Linked DNA regions of Homo sapiens: regions 1 and 2 are each linked to region 3. The links are contacts of gene promoters, found by promoter capture Hi-C in human tissues and cell types (Jung and others, 2019). All regions are on one chromosome and are shown on one strand. The core of a region is centred on a gene start or on the middle of the fragment in contact, and the rest is flanking DNA. Distances in the headings are between cores, read along the strand shown.

The links. Contacts are between HindIII fragments. The study calls those that stand out against the background at their distance.
Region 1: a fragment that was not itself captured here is called in contact with the fragment with the promoter of SCEL in region 3 in 3 of the 25 tissues and cell types used here (lymphoblastoid cells, mesendoderm cells and stomach).
Region 2: a fragment that was not itself captured here is called in contact with the fragment with the promoter of SCEL in region 3 in 2 of the 25 tissues and cell types used here (lymphoblastoid cells and thymus).

The regions. Positions count from the first base shown.
Region 1 is chr13:77,489,416-77,493,828 of GRCh38, reverse strand. No RefSeq gene overlaps it. Among named protein-coding and RNA genes, the nearest start is that of SCEL, 44 kb to the left of the region's middle. The HindIII fragment of the contact is 6,349 bases long and covers 1-4,413 here.
Region 2 is chr13:77,593,969-77,598,258 of GRCh38, reverse strand. It overlaps SCEL (sciellin), which reads right to left. Exons shown (of 33, transcript NM_144777.3): 13 at 670-714. Among named protein-coding and RNA genes, the nearest start is that of SCEL-AS1, 10 kb to the left of the region's middle. The HindIII fragment of the contact is 3,038 bases long and covers 1-2,823 here.
Region 3 is chr13:77,533,988-77,538,121 of GRCh38, reverse strand. It overlaps SCEL (sciellin), which reads right to left and starts at 2,416. Exons shown (of 33, transcript NM_144777.3): 1 at 2,298-2,416. The HindIII fragment of the contact is 8,761 bases long and covers 1-4,134 here.

The sequences.
Region 1 (4,413 bases), core at 1,272-3,771, 44 kb after region 3:
GTCACCACAACCTTAGCTTGGAATGGGACCCCAAGCCTCCAACCAGACCATAGCCCTGGCCGACACCTTGAACACAGCCTTGTGAAACTCTGAGCAGGGGACCCAACTAAGCCAAGACAAGATTCCTGACCCACAGAAGCTGTGAGATAATAAATGTATATTGTTTTAAGCTACTAAGTATGTGGTGATTGGTCATGCATCAATAGAAAACTAACACATTTACTTTTCACTTTTCTGAATTTTCTAGATTATCTATAATAAATATGTTTATTTTATAATAGAGGAAAAAACTTTTTACAACAAAAATAAAAGAGAATTAATGTGGATAATTCAGGCTATATATTCCAGAAAAGAGAACTGACATCATTTTTCTTCATGTTATTAACAAAGTACTGCATTAAATAGGAGGAAATTTTCTCTTTGTACTTTAATGCTCTGGATCAAATCCAAAGTTACCCAGCTCAAGGCTAAAAGTGAACACACTCCGTATAACTGAACTAATGGTTTCTGAAACAAATGTACTGAAAGATAAGCCTTTGCACCATTCTTCTCTTGCTGTACTATGATTCACTGAAACCATCCTGAATAAACAGATTTTAATTTTGGTTTAGATTCCAACACCCAGCAGGCTACCCCACTGATTAATGATGATAAAACTAAGCAGAAAGGGAAGCCATTCATGAAACAAACAATATAACCATCAATCAAGCTCACAGCTGATAATATTCAGATACTGAATAGTACTTGACTCTCTAGCACCACTCCATGGAGACCTGCTGAGCAGCTAAGTGCTTTAAAATTAATAACAAGATCAGCAGTGCAAAGGTTGATGGTGTCAATGGGGATGAGGACTCAAGGATATAATGCAGTATTTACGGATCATCCATGATGAGCTAGTTTCTCTACAATGCATGCTTAGTTTAAATCCTATATTAGGATTTAAGCTTCTATATTAGAAGTACAAATACTTCTTTCTCTGACACGCATCTGCCTCCTGCATCAGTCATATGGGGAAGTTAAATGGAGACCGTTGCATCTTTTGTTTTTGTTTTTGTTTTTTTGTTTGTTTGTTTCTTGAGATGGAGTCTCGCTCTGTCGCCCAGGCTGGAGTGCAGTGGCACGATCTTGGCTCACTGCAAGCTCCGTCTCCTGTGTTCACACCATTCTCCTGCCTAACCTCCTGAGTAGCTGGGACTACAGGCGCCCGCCACCACACCTGGCTAATTTTTTGTATTTTTAGTAGAGACAGGGTTTCACCGTGTTAGCCAGGATGGTCTCGATCTCCTGACCTCGTGATCCGCCCGCCTCGGCCTCCCAAAGTGCTGGGATTACAGGTGTGAGCTACCACGCCTGGCCGACCCTTGCATCTTTTAAGTCCCTACTGGTAAATTTTTGGTTCCTTCAGCCAAGTAAAATTGTTTTCCATTTACTACTTTATGTATTTGGTGTTGTGTATTACTACATTATTTATTCAATCTATGTCTACACTGGGCACCACAAGAATCCCAGCCCTATTTCCCTCTATTCTAATCCCAATTGGCTCCATGAGAAATGAAGAATTCCTCACTCCTCACCCCACCCCTAATTTATTTTTGCCAGGACATTAAATCACTACCTGACACACCATATATTTCACCTGTTAATTTTTCTTCCTCTAAAATTTTCACTCCACTAAGGCAGAAAATTTTGGTTGGTTGGTTCACTAAAATATTACCAGTCCCCAGTGTCTGACACACAGTAGGCAATCAATAAAAATTGTTCAAATGAATGAACAGATGAATGAATGGTATTCCCAGGAACTAGCTTAATTCTAGTTTAACTCTGAGCAACTGTTGTATTACCCCTAAAAGGTCTAGACATTTCTCTTTCCCAATGCACAGTCATCCCAATAGCTGAAGGTCCCTTTGCAGAAGGCTGGAAGAAATATGCTTATGTGATATGAACACAGAGTTCTTTTTCAAGAGTACCTAGGCATCCTTTTAGTATCTGAAAATTTAAGTTTGGAAATTGGTAAAAGGCCAACACTTTCTTATGTGGTTTGAATTTAGGTCCCTGATGGCCATACCTAGAGTCTTTGAGTTTTGGTTGGTGTTAGTATTATTTTAGAAATCAAATATTCTCTTGCTGGGTTGTACATATAATTTATTTCTAGGACACCAATGACTGATTAGCAAATGTCAAAGATTTCTAGGGTTAGACCATTTTGACGACACACTGACTCCCCCTCCACCTTCTCCACATCTGCCCAGACCCATTTGCGTCCAATGTTTAAGTGCTGCTATGGGGCTTCTGCTACTCTGGGATCCTAGTATCCCAGTGAAATCAGAGAGCTCATTTCAGCTGTGTCTCCTCTCACTGCATTCTAGATCCACAAAGAACATCCTCTATAGGGATTTTTTTAATGCTGGAATTCTCTTCACCAATGAATTTCTCAATGCATGCATCAACAAGGCCTTGGAGCCAGAGTTAAGAATTAAGAAATTGATGGCACACAAAAAAATTCCCTCCCACTTTCCTACATCTGTTTCATTTCTTCCTTTATAGTATAACACAAATATCTAGGCCACCGCTGAGTCCAAGTTTCATCAGTTGACCACAATAAGTAACTACAATCAACCCCAGTTGAATATTGTGTTCAACCTAGTCACAATCTAGGTACCCGCACCTAGATTGTATATAGATGAGGTGCAGGTACATATATTGACATATCGTACTTGATCTCAATCACAGTCCTCCCACTTTAGTCAACATCCTCAGAATTTATTGCCACGTGCATCAGCCAGATTTTTGCAAACATAGCAGCAAAATTTTGTAAATTTGGGGAGTTTGACTTTAAAATAGGCTCTGGGACATGCCTACCTTGGTTGCAGGGGAGGACAGTGCACTGGCATGGGAAGATTTACACACTGAGCAACCCAACTTCTCTCACGTCTCCACCCTGTGTTGGCACCTACTTAATACCCTATGTCAGAGCCCCAACTTTGATCTAAGAGGCTAGAAAAGGTTATACATTGATGTAAAGAAGCAACTTGGAGGATAAATCTTTGAGTGTGGGTTCCAATTCAGCACTATCTTAGAAAGAGACTAGTTTTCAGTGGGTGGCTTGAGCTGAGAGTTGAAGACTTTCAGTTTGTCATTTTCTGCCATTGAAGTGTCCATTGCTTAACTCTACAATCCTTGAATTCCTCCACACCCTTCAACCACTCTCTTGCAGCATACATTTTTCCTCCCAAACCTAGCATTCAAGGGGGCTATCACCCGAGTGGACACAAGTGATCATTTGATTAACTGTTTTGTTTTGTTTTGTTTTTTCTTCACAAATTTCGATGGATGCTCAGGTTCAGTTTCTTAATATCAACCTGATTTCCAATTCCCCTTAAACCCTACCAAGACAGAGAATAAAGTACAGTTTCCCTCCTGTTTTCCTGAATAACTGTTGCCTACAACTTCTGGCACAATTTTCAGTCACAGTCAGGACTTTTAGATGCAAATAATAGAAACTGACCCTGGTTAATTAAAGCAGAAACAGAAACTATTTAAAAGATGTTGGATAGCCCATATATTCTCTGGGAGGGCTAGAGAAGCAAACTTATGGATTTTACAGCTGGAAACAATTCCCACAGTCAAACCACAAGACTTATCAGGTAAAGACATTGGAACTCCTGCTGGACCCAGACAGCACAGCACCTTCCAGCAGCCAGTGACCAGACCCTGGGTGCTGCTGCAGGAACTCTACTGCCACTGCTGCCTTTGAGAACCAAATATGGTTGCCGCCTCCACCCCCAAATGTTGTCCAAATATATTCTGGGTGGTGTGTGCTTCCTTGTGTCCCAGTTTCTCATAGTCTCGAGAGAAGATGGATCTGATTGGCAGAGCCCAGCCCCATGCCTTAACAGCAAGAACCCTGGAGAGGTGAGTAGCTGGATGGCATCAGAGGGAGAGCATTTCCCAAACATAGAGAGTGGGTTCTGATACCTGGATGGCAAAAAAGAAATTGGTAAATCTCCATCATACTGGCTTTATGAGAAATGATAAGGTCTGTGAATACAGACAGCCCCAGTTTCAATTTGTGCACTTTCTTCACTTTCTATTTGACATTGGGCAAGTTCATCTCTCCGAGCTTTGTTTTTTCTCGTAAGTAAAAACCTTCCCTTGCAGAAATTAAAAAGTAAGTTATGTGGATAAGATAATTCAAAAAGTGAAAGCTATTACTTGAAAAGATAATTGAGATATATATAATATTTTGTGAGGCCTCATCTTGGTAAAATATTCAACTTTTCATATATTTATGCCTATTCTCCCTAACTAGAGGATCATGTTTTATACTAGTTTGTATGTTTTATACTAGTTTGTATTTCCGCAGAGCAGTAAACACACAGATACATACGTGTGCACTTAATAAATGAACTAATA
Region 2 (4,290 bases), core at 55-2,554, 61 kb before region 3:
CAAACACAAGCCTTGATTATTCATTTTTCTCTCTTGGCATATTTCAAGTTATACAATTATAAATGATTCAAAACAAGAAGATACAGCCTGGGCAACATAGTGAGACCCCATCTCTACAAAAAATTAAAAATTAGCCACACGTGGTGGCACAGGCCTGTAGTCCCAGCTACTTGGGAGGCTGAGGCAAGAGGATGGCTAGCGGCCAGGAGGTCAAGGCTGCAGTGAGTTATGATTGCACCACTGCACTCCAGCCTGGGTAAGAGAGTAAGACTCTGTCTCAAAAAATAATAATAAACAATATAACATTAACTATGATAATAAAATGTTTTTTGTAATGGTTAAACTAAAATTATTCCATGATCAAACCAAATTCTGTTTACATTTTAGTTAATTAATATTTCAGGAAGAGAAAAGTGGTTATTTATATAACTGCCTTAATAAACAAATGGCGTATGAAAATCAAGAACACTTTCATATTAGTATCTTCAGACTTTAATAACCATTCATCATAACAATGAAATGATGATGATTGCTGCAAGCTTTTATTCAAGATTTGTAGGATATTTTTGACTACCCTGGTATGTGGGTCCTCACGCTCAAAGACTGGAAAGGCATAAAAAGTCACAATATGCAACTCAGTAATAAAAGATAAACATTTAAAAATCTTACCTATTCAAGCTTTTGTTCATTTTGATGAGATTATCCAATTCTTCACTTTGGGAAGAGAAAAAAATGTTTAACATTAGTAAAAAGCTTGCCCAGGGTCAAAGGGTAAATTTGCCTTAAAATGACAGTTCTCTGAAATACAACACATCCCACTTTTATCATCTGCGAAAATCCTGATGATCCTCAAAGCTCGCATCCAACACCACTTTCTCCAGAAAGCCTTTCCTAGTCCTCTAACTGAATAGAGTCCTCTACATTTTTGGAGCCCTTGCAGCATTTGTTTTTTCTGCACCTGCTTTATGACAGTTCTGTGACTATACTTTGAGTTATAGCCATTGCACACTGGTCTCATGTTAATGCTCCTACCTCAGCACAGGCACACATATGCACACCACTTAAAATTTAGAACTGTATTTTACATCAGACACACTTCTGTGTTTTAATACAGTGTTCATACAGTAGATACTTAATACCCACTTTTAATTGAGTCCACACATAGGTACACTGATTAATTACAGCATTGTGCAATGTACTTGCACACGTAGCTTCTAGAAAACATTTGTTCATCAGTAAGTCTGGCTTCCTTCTTGAGCTCTGCTACTTCATTTCCAGGTCAGCTAAATTTGCTAGCCTGTTTCCACATTTGACAACTGCAAAGCCTTTTCTGGCTGCTGCTTCAGGAGCAACCTATTTAAATACTTAGGTTCAGGAATTCTATTTAAACCACATGGGTTCAACTTTCTCCCCTAAGCAGGCAGCCTAGGTGAGGTGGGGTGGGGGTTTCACCACAGTGCTATTGGTTTCTTCCTCTAGTTCCCTGTCACAGCATGTCCTTTCTCCAACTTTTCTATTCATGACCTACCCCCGACCACACACACACACACACACACACACACACACACACCTTGCCCCACCTCTCTTGCCTTCCTCAGCAAGTTTTTCTGTTCACAAATCAGTAGTTACGCATTCAAGTTTCCTTGTTAAGGACACATGGAGTACGATCCAGGACTCATCACTTATTCATTGGTGAATCTGGGTGAGTTACCTAACCTTCTGTGGACTTAATTTTCCCATTTGTAAAATGAGAATACTAATCATACCCACCTCAGAAAAGATTCATAAGCTCATGAATATAAAGTATTTAGCACAATGCCTAACAAGTCATAAATTCCTGATTAATTTGGGCCATTATAATAAATAATGCCCTGTCATTACTAAATTTTTTGTTTAATAAATGCTTGCTATACTTTTTTTTTTTTAAGACAGAGTTTCACTCTTGTTGCCCAAACTGGAGTTCAATGGCATGATCTTGGCTCACTGCAACCTCCGCCTCCCAGGTTCAAGCAATTCTCCTGCCTCAGCCTCCCAAGTAGCTGGGACTAAAGGTGTGCACCACCATGCCCAGCTAATTTTTGTAGTTTTAGTAGAGATGGGGTTTCACCATGTTTGCCAAGCTGGTCTTGAACTCCTTACCTCAGGTGATCTGCCCACCTCAGCCTCCCAAAGTGCTGGGATTACAGGTGTGAGCCACCACGCCCAACCTAGTAAATGCTTGCTATACTTATTTTTTAATTGCACTTAGAAACACCAAGACTTCGACTTAGCCTTTAGAGAGAGATGCAATTGCTAAGTCACTTATGTGCTTGAAGATGCCTGGCACGATGACACTATAGCAAGAATAGCTGCTGAGGGTAGTCCTCTTAGAGACCCTAAATTAACAGCCAGTACATAGGTGAATCCTGTCAAGTAGTTTTAGGTATCAATGGTAGAATTGTTGCCTGAGAATAAATACTGAAATACAAAAGTTGCTGCCTCTAACAACAACAAAAAAATTAATGCTCTATCCTTGTGTGTGACAAACACTACCCAGTCCCTTGACACAGTAACCCATTACTGTTTCTTGCTTGATATTCTACCCACTAACTCTGAGACTAACAATCTGTTCATGTCCCCAAGGGAAAGAGCAAACCCACGAGTCCTATAAATTTTAGCCCCAGGCTTTCCTGACTGGCATGAGTCACAATGATGAGATTATCAGGATTTGGAGTTGCTTTATCCCAAGAAAATTAGCATAAATCATGAGAAGACACTCTGTGGCAAATTAAATAAAATGGATACTGTATTCCAAATAAAAAACTTAAGCTTTCAAAATGACTTTAAATTGATGAAAGCTTTGGATATTAAGTTTCACCATTGCATTTGTAACAAATTAAATGCTCTTAATCAGATAGCAGTAACATTCCATTTCACAAAGAGCAGCTCGGATAACTAAAGCCATTTCTACTCCCTGTGGATGGTCCAAAGAAACAATACTCTATGATGACTACCATGAACATTTTTCCTGATCCCTGTCAAGCAGCAACTTCTCTCTGTGATAAATGTACCTGGCTGTGGAATTTGAGCATTATGGCTAGGGAGCAGGGACAGGAAAGTTAAACTAACTGCCTCTCTGACAGTTTTTATTTGATTTACACCAAACCATAATTTCCCTTCAGAGTCACTCACTTATCTGTTTCTCAGATATCCCGATCACCCACCAAACCACTGTCTAATCCCTACTGGAAACAAAATATTACCTGCAACAGAAATAAATCAATAAAATTAGAGATCTAGACACTTCAATGAGGGAAGACATGGAAATGAAACATTCAGGACAATTTCTATAGACTCTGTCTGGATTCAGAGCTCCTATTTTGTTTATGAATTTGCACAGAAAAGCCAAGTGTCACATTTTCTTCTCTTCAATTCTTTTGACAGAGACTGCAATCTCTAACAACACTCTTAGCATTACTAAAATCTATTAAACAAGGAATATTTTTGAGAGCTTTGGACTTAAACAATGGAATATTATGATTTTACCATAATCTATTAAACACTGTGTACAAAGCATCATGTCACACACTGTAAATGGCAAATAAGACAAAATATCTGCCCTGAGAGACTATAGAGATGATAGAGAAGGTAACACACTTATGCAAATAACAGGAAACAAAACTGAGTATGATTCGCTCTTATAAAATATGAATAGTGCAACTCTAAGTGCTAATAGAGGCAGAAGTCACATCTCACTGGATCACTCAGGGAAGACAACAGAGAAGGTGCCACTTGATCCAGATCTTGAACAATGGGCAGGGCTTGGATGGATTGGCATGGTGGCTTGAGGCTGGAAAAGGCTACCATGTGGTATAAACAAAGCCAGAGTATTTGGAAACTACAGAGAGAAAATGGTTTCCCTTGATATGAACGTAGGATAAATATAGGAGTGAAAACAGAAATAACTGGAATGTGAGGCTGGAGCCAGGTTCGCAAGGGCTTTGAATGAGGTTATATGCCATTGAATGGGCAATGTGGATCTGGTTCAGTGATTGAGCAGAATCTTTGGAAAAATTATGGCATTGATGGGTGATAATAGTTTAGTGGAAGGAAAGCCTGAAGAGTGTAAGTAAAGCTGAATAACTACTCTAATAATCTGTGAAGGAGTCAATGAGGTTTTAAACTAGGGGAAATCCGTGTACACATGAGGGACATTTTAGATGTTTAATTCGTGCATGCATGATACTACTTAAGGGGAAGGGGAAGGAGAAGGAAGAATCAAGAATTATTCCAGAAAGGTGAGTCTGCAGG
Region 3 (4,134 bases), core at 1,167-3,666:
AAAAAAGACTTTTGATTCAGAAGTGAGCTTTGAACAACTCCAGCTATGTATGCAGCAATTAATACCTAAAATCTTTATTTCAAAGTACCCAGCCAAAGAAAATGGAAAATGATCAACAAATGGTCTAGAAGCAGGACAATGACAGAAAGCGAAGCCATATGGAACCAATAAAGATTTCCCTTGGACTGCAAGGCCAAAGATTTTATCCCCTCACTCTTAAGAAATGCTGGGAGTTGATGCCTGAACCGTATAAGATACTCTCAGTTAAACAATGTTTGCTTAATTTGACGGCTTCGTGAATTGTGTTCAGTTCATTCCACAGTATGAGCTCAGTCATTCAAAATTTGTTTTGTTTACATAGTCCCCAGGAATATGAACCTCTCAGGTATTTCATCATAATTCTGGTAGTCTGAGAAGGCAGTCAGGTAAGCATCACCTACAGAATGGCATTCGAGGCAAGGGTGTTCTGATTGTACAGACCACAGCTAACACACATACATCAGATCCCCTCCCTGCTGAGGGGCTACTGGCTCCTGAGATGAAAATCTCATAAATATAATAAACGGCAACACTGATTCCATAAGCCACAAGTTGGAAAACGTATTCTATTATGTCTTAGTCATACCATACACACTATAATATTTCCACATGTGCTGGGTAACCACAGTCTGTGATGGAGTGTGGCTCATTTATTGCTACTACATATTTTATGATAAAAAGCATTTGAAAAAATATTGAGAAAATTCAGTAAGACAAAAGACAAGCAATCTGGCATCGTGCTCTGGTTCTGCTACTCTGATCTTCACAAGTTGCTTAACATTTATGCTTTGATTTTCTCAACTAGAAAATTCAGGCATTAGACTAGATGGGCCTATGCTCCGTTTCAGTTGAAATATTCTGTCAATTAGATCTAAGATTTATACGACGCTAACATTCCAATAAAAATTCTGGCCTGTTGTTGGCATTCTATGCATATCCCGACATTTAGGATCATCTGAATGTTTTACTAAAATTTTTACTGTTGTCATTTCTCAGTTTTCTCAAATTGATGTTTCCAATACTTTAAACACTGGAGCACCACATATATTAGGAAGGCTTTATCTACGTTATAAACTATGGAAGTGAAAGACAGTTTTAAATGTAATCACATTTTATGAAAAATAAAATTATCCACACTTGCTACACTTTAGTTTTCTGGTTACTATAAACACTTGAAAGCCAAGTTGTAAAATTCTTCTGTAAACCTTTGGGAAATGAGCACTGGTGTGTCTAACCCCCTCTCAGACTGCAGGTGACCTTGTCAGCAATAGGAAGCCATGAGAACTCAAGTACTACAGATAGAGCCAGGTATGCTGTGGGGGCACCTCTCTGGAGGACACAGAGCTGCAATTTGCAAGCTGTGAGTGGCCCCTGCATTTGAATCCCACAGCTCTGTATCATAAATAGAAATGATGAGAAAAAACACAAGTCAGCTTAGCTATTAATTATAAAAGAAAGCTCTGTTAAAAGAACTCTTCTAGCCTTATCAAAAGTCTCCCAAAACTGGTTTTTCAGGACTAGGCTATGAATAAAGTTTGAAAATTGCCCCCATATACATTAATCACTCCTTAGGTTAGAATGCAGAATATACCATAGAGAAGTTGGCCAGATGCCCACAGATCCCTGTGAGGAACCATGTACCCTTATTCTGCTCCCACACCCTGCCTTTACTCCTTGGTACTTTCAAGTGAGAAATGGTGATTTTCTTATTTGGGGAAGATAGGGTGGAGACAAAAACCTCATAAATATAAACCTCTCTCTCTCTCATAGCTCAGCAACTTGCAATATTTTTAGCAGTAGAGAAAAAAATAAATATGACTTATTAACTATAAAGCAATATTTGAGTTCACTATTTCACTAAAAGCATCATTTATGAAAACAGAAAGATCCTTTAAAAAATGTTTGTATAGTCGCTTGAGAAAATAAACCAGCAGGTGCTGGTCCCTTCACTTAAAGAATTTATTATCCTTTGTGTGGCAGGATTCACCAGCTGACAGCTCCCACCCAGAAAATCAAATAGGTGCTCGTTTCTGTGATGCCCATAACGTGTAAAATTGCCAAGAAGTTCAATGCAATGTGACCTAAAAGTACAGCAAGGAAGAGCAGAGCTAACAGCCAGCTGGAGGCTGTCAAAATTTACAGGAAGAAAAGACAAAGATAATACAGTAAGTTCTAATTTTAATCATTTGTAAGGAACACAGAGAAAGCTGTGCACATACAGCAGATGTATTTCTGTTTGCAAGTATAATTCAACTTACCTCTATTGAGCAGAAAATCAGGACTTTTTGGCTAACCAGCCTGTAGTGATTCCCTGGGAGGATCTGGCTGAAAGAAATGGGAACCTAGAGTTTATTCAGTGGAGTCTCAACCTCTACCTGACTGTATTAGTGAACAGTTCAGAGGTTTCTTGCTCAGCGGCTGAGTCACTCAGGGAGGAGGTGTGTGGTATGCAACAGGGTGTCACCTTGTACAAATACCAGTTCAATTAAAGCATTCTCACTCATATACCTACTGTCTTTGTTTGAATTCTTTGTTTAACTTATGGCCTTATGCAAAAAAAAAAAAAACATATATATATATATGCTCCTGTGATCACCCTTTTAACTGATATCAACAGTATGCACAACCATATCACTGACAAGGTGGCATAGGACCCAACCTATTTTGTATTCTCTTTCAAAAAATAAAATTGAAAACTCAAGATAGAAGGAACCCCCATACACCCATAGTACCTGGAAGGCAGGGGCACAGACAAGCATGCAAGGAGTATATGGCTTAAAGGAATCTTCAAGACAAACAAATTCTCAGAAACCCAGGAACCCTAGGATTAGAAAACACAAAAGAAGTCTGTTCCACACATTCTACACCTAGACTATTTTGTAAAACTATCAGAGGGAAAATACACCTAGCATGTAAGAATTCTAATCTCTATCTTATTTATCCATGTATAAAAAAATGTGAAAAGGGGCCAGGCGTGGTGGCTCACATCTGTAATCCCAGGACTTTGGGCGGTGGAAGCAGGCGGATCACCTGAGGTCAGCAGTTCAAGATCAGCCTGGCCAACATGGTAAAACCTGATCTCTACTAAAAATATAAAAATTAGCTGGGCGTGATGGCACACACCTGTAACCCCAGCTATATTAAATAACTATAACACACCATGATAAAGTCATATACAGAAATTTTCAATGCCAGGCATCGCATAGTGGAGAGAAGGAAGAACCTGGAAGGTGATGTTGATGCAGAGTTTTAAAGTCTGAGTGGACAATGATTAGATGGTCAAGAAGAAGAAGAACCATTCATCCACTCTGGCAGGAGGAGGCAGGAGAATCACTTGAACCAGGGAAGTGGAGGTTACAGTGAGCCAAGATCACACCACTGCACTCTAGCCTAGGCAACAGAGTGAGACTGTCTCAGAAAAAAAAAAAAAATGTGAAAAGGATGGTTGAAACTTCTTTCAATGCTGAGGGCAGCAGTAGACCCAACATCAAAGGCTGCTTCTGGCCAGTTGCAGTGGCTTTCACTTGCACTTTGGGAGGCCAAGGTGGGAGGATCACTTGAGCCAAGAAGTTCGAGACAAACTGGGCAACACAGTAAGAGAAGATCTCATCTCTACTAAAAATAAAAAAATCAGCTGGGTGTGGTAGTGCATGTCTTTGGTCCCAGTTACTCAGGAGGCTGAGGCAAAGAGAGTCTCTTGAGCATGGGAGGACCAAGCCACAGTGAGCTGTGATCACACCACCGCATTCCAGTATGGGTGACAGAGTGAGACCCTATCTCAAAAAACAAAACAAACAGACAAAAAAAACAAAAAAAACCCAACAAAAAACAAAGGCTGCTTCCGCTGGGAGGAAGGAGTAACACTGAAGAGCCATTCTAGGCGGGGACTCCTGTTACAGGTTTTGAAACACACCTTCCCTAAGAGCCAAAGAGGCTTTAAAGAAGCTTAGCAAACATTGTTGAGAGAAGCCACGTCATCAGAACTTCCTGGGTGATCGTCATTCATATGTCACACCAGCAATGAACCAAATCCCCCCTGAACAACTGCTCCTGAAAACTACAATGCAGCTGAGTGACGCCCACTGAAATGACTGT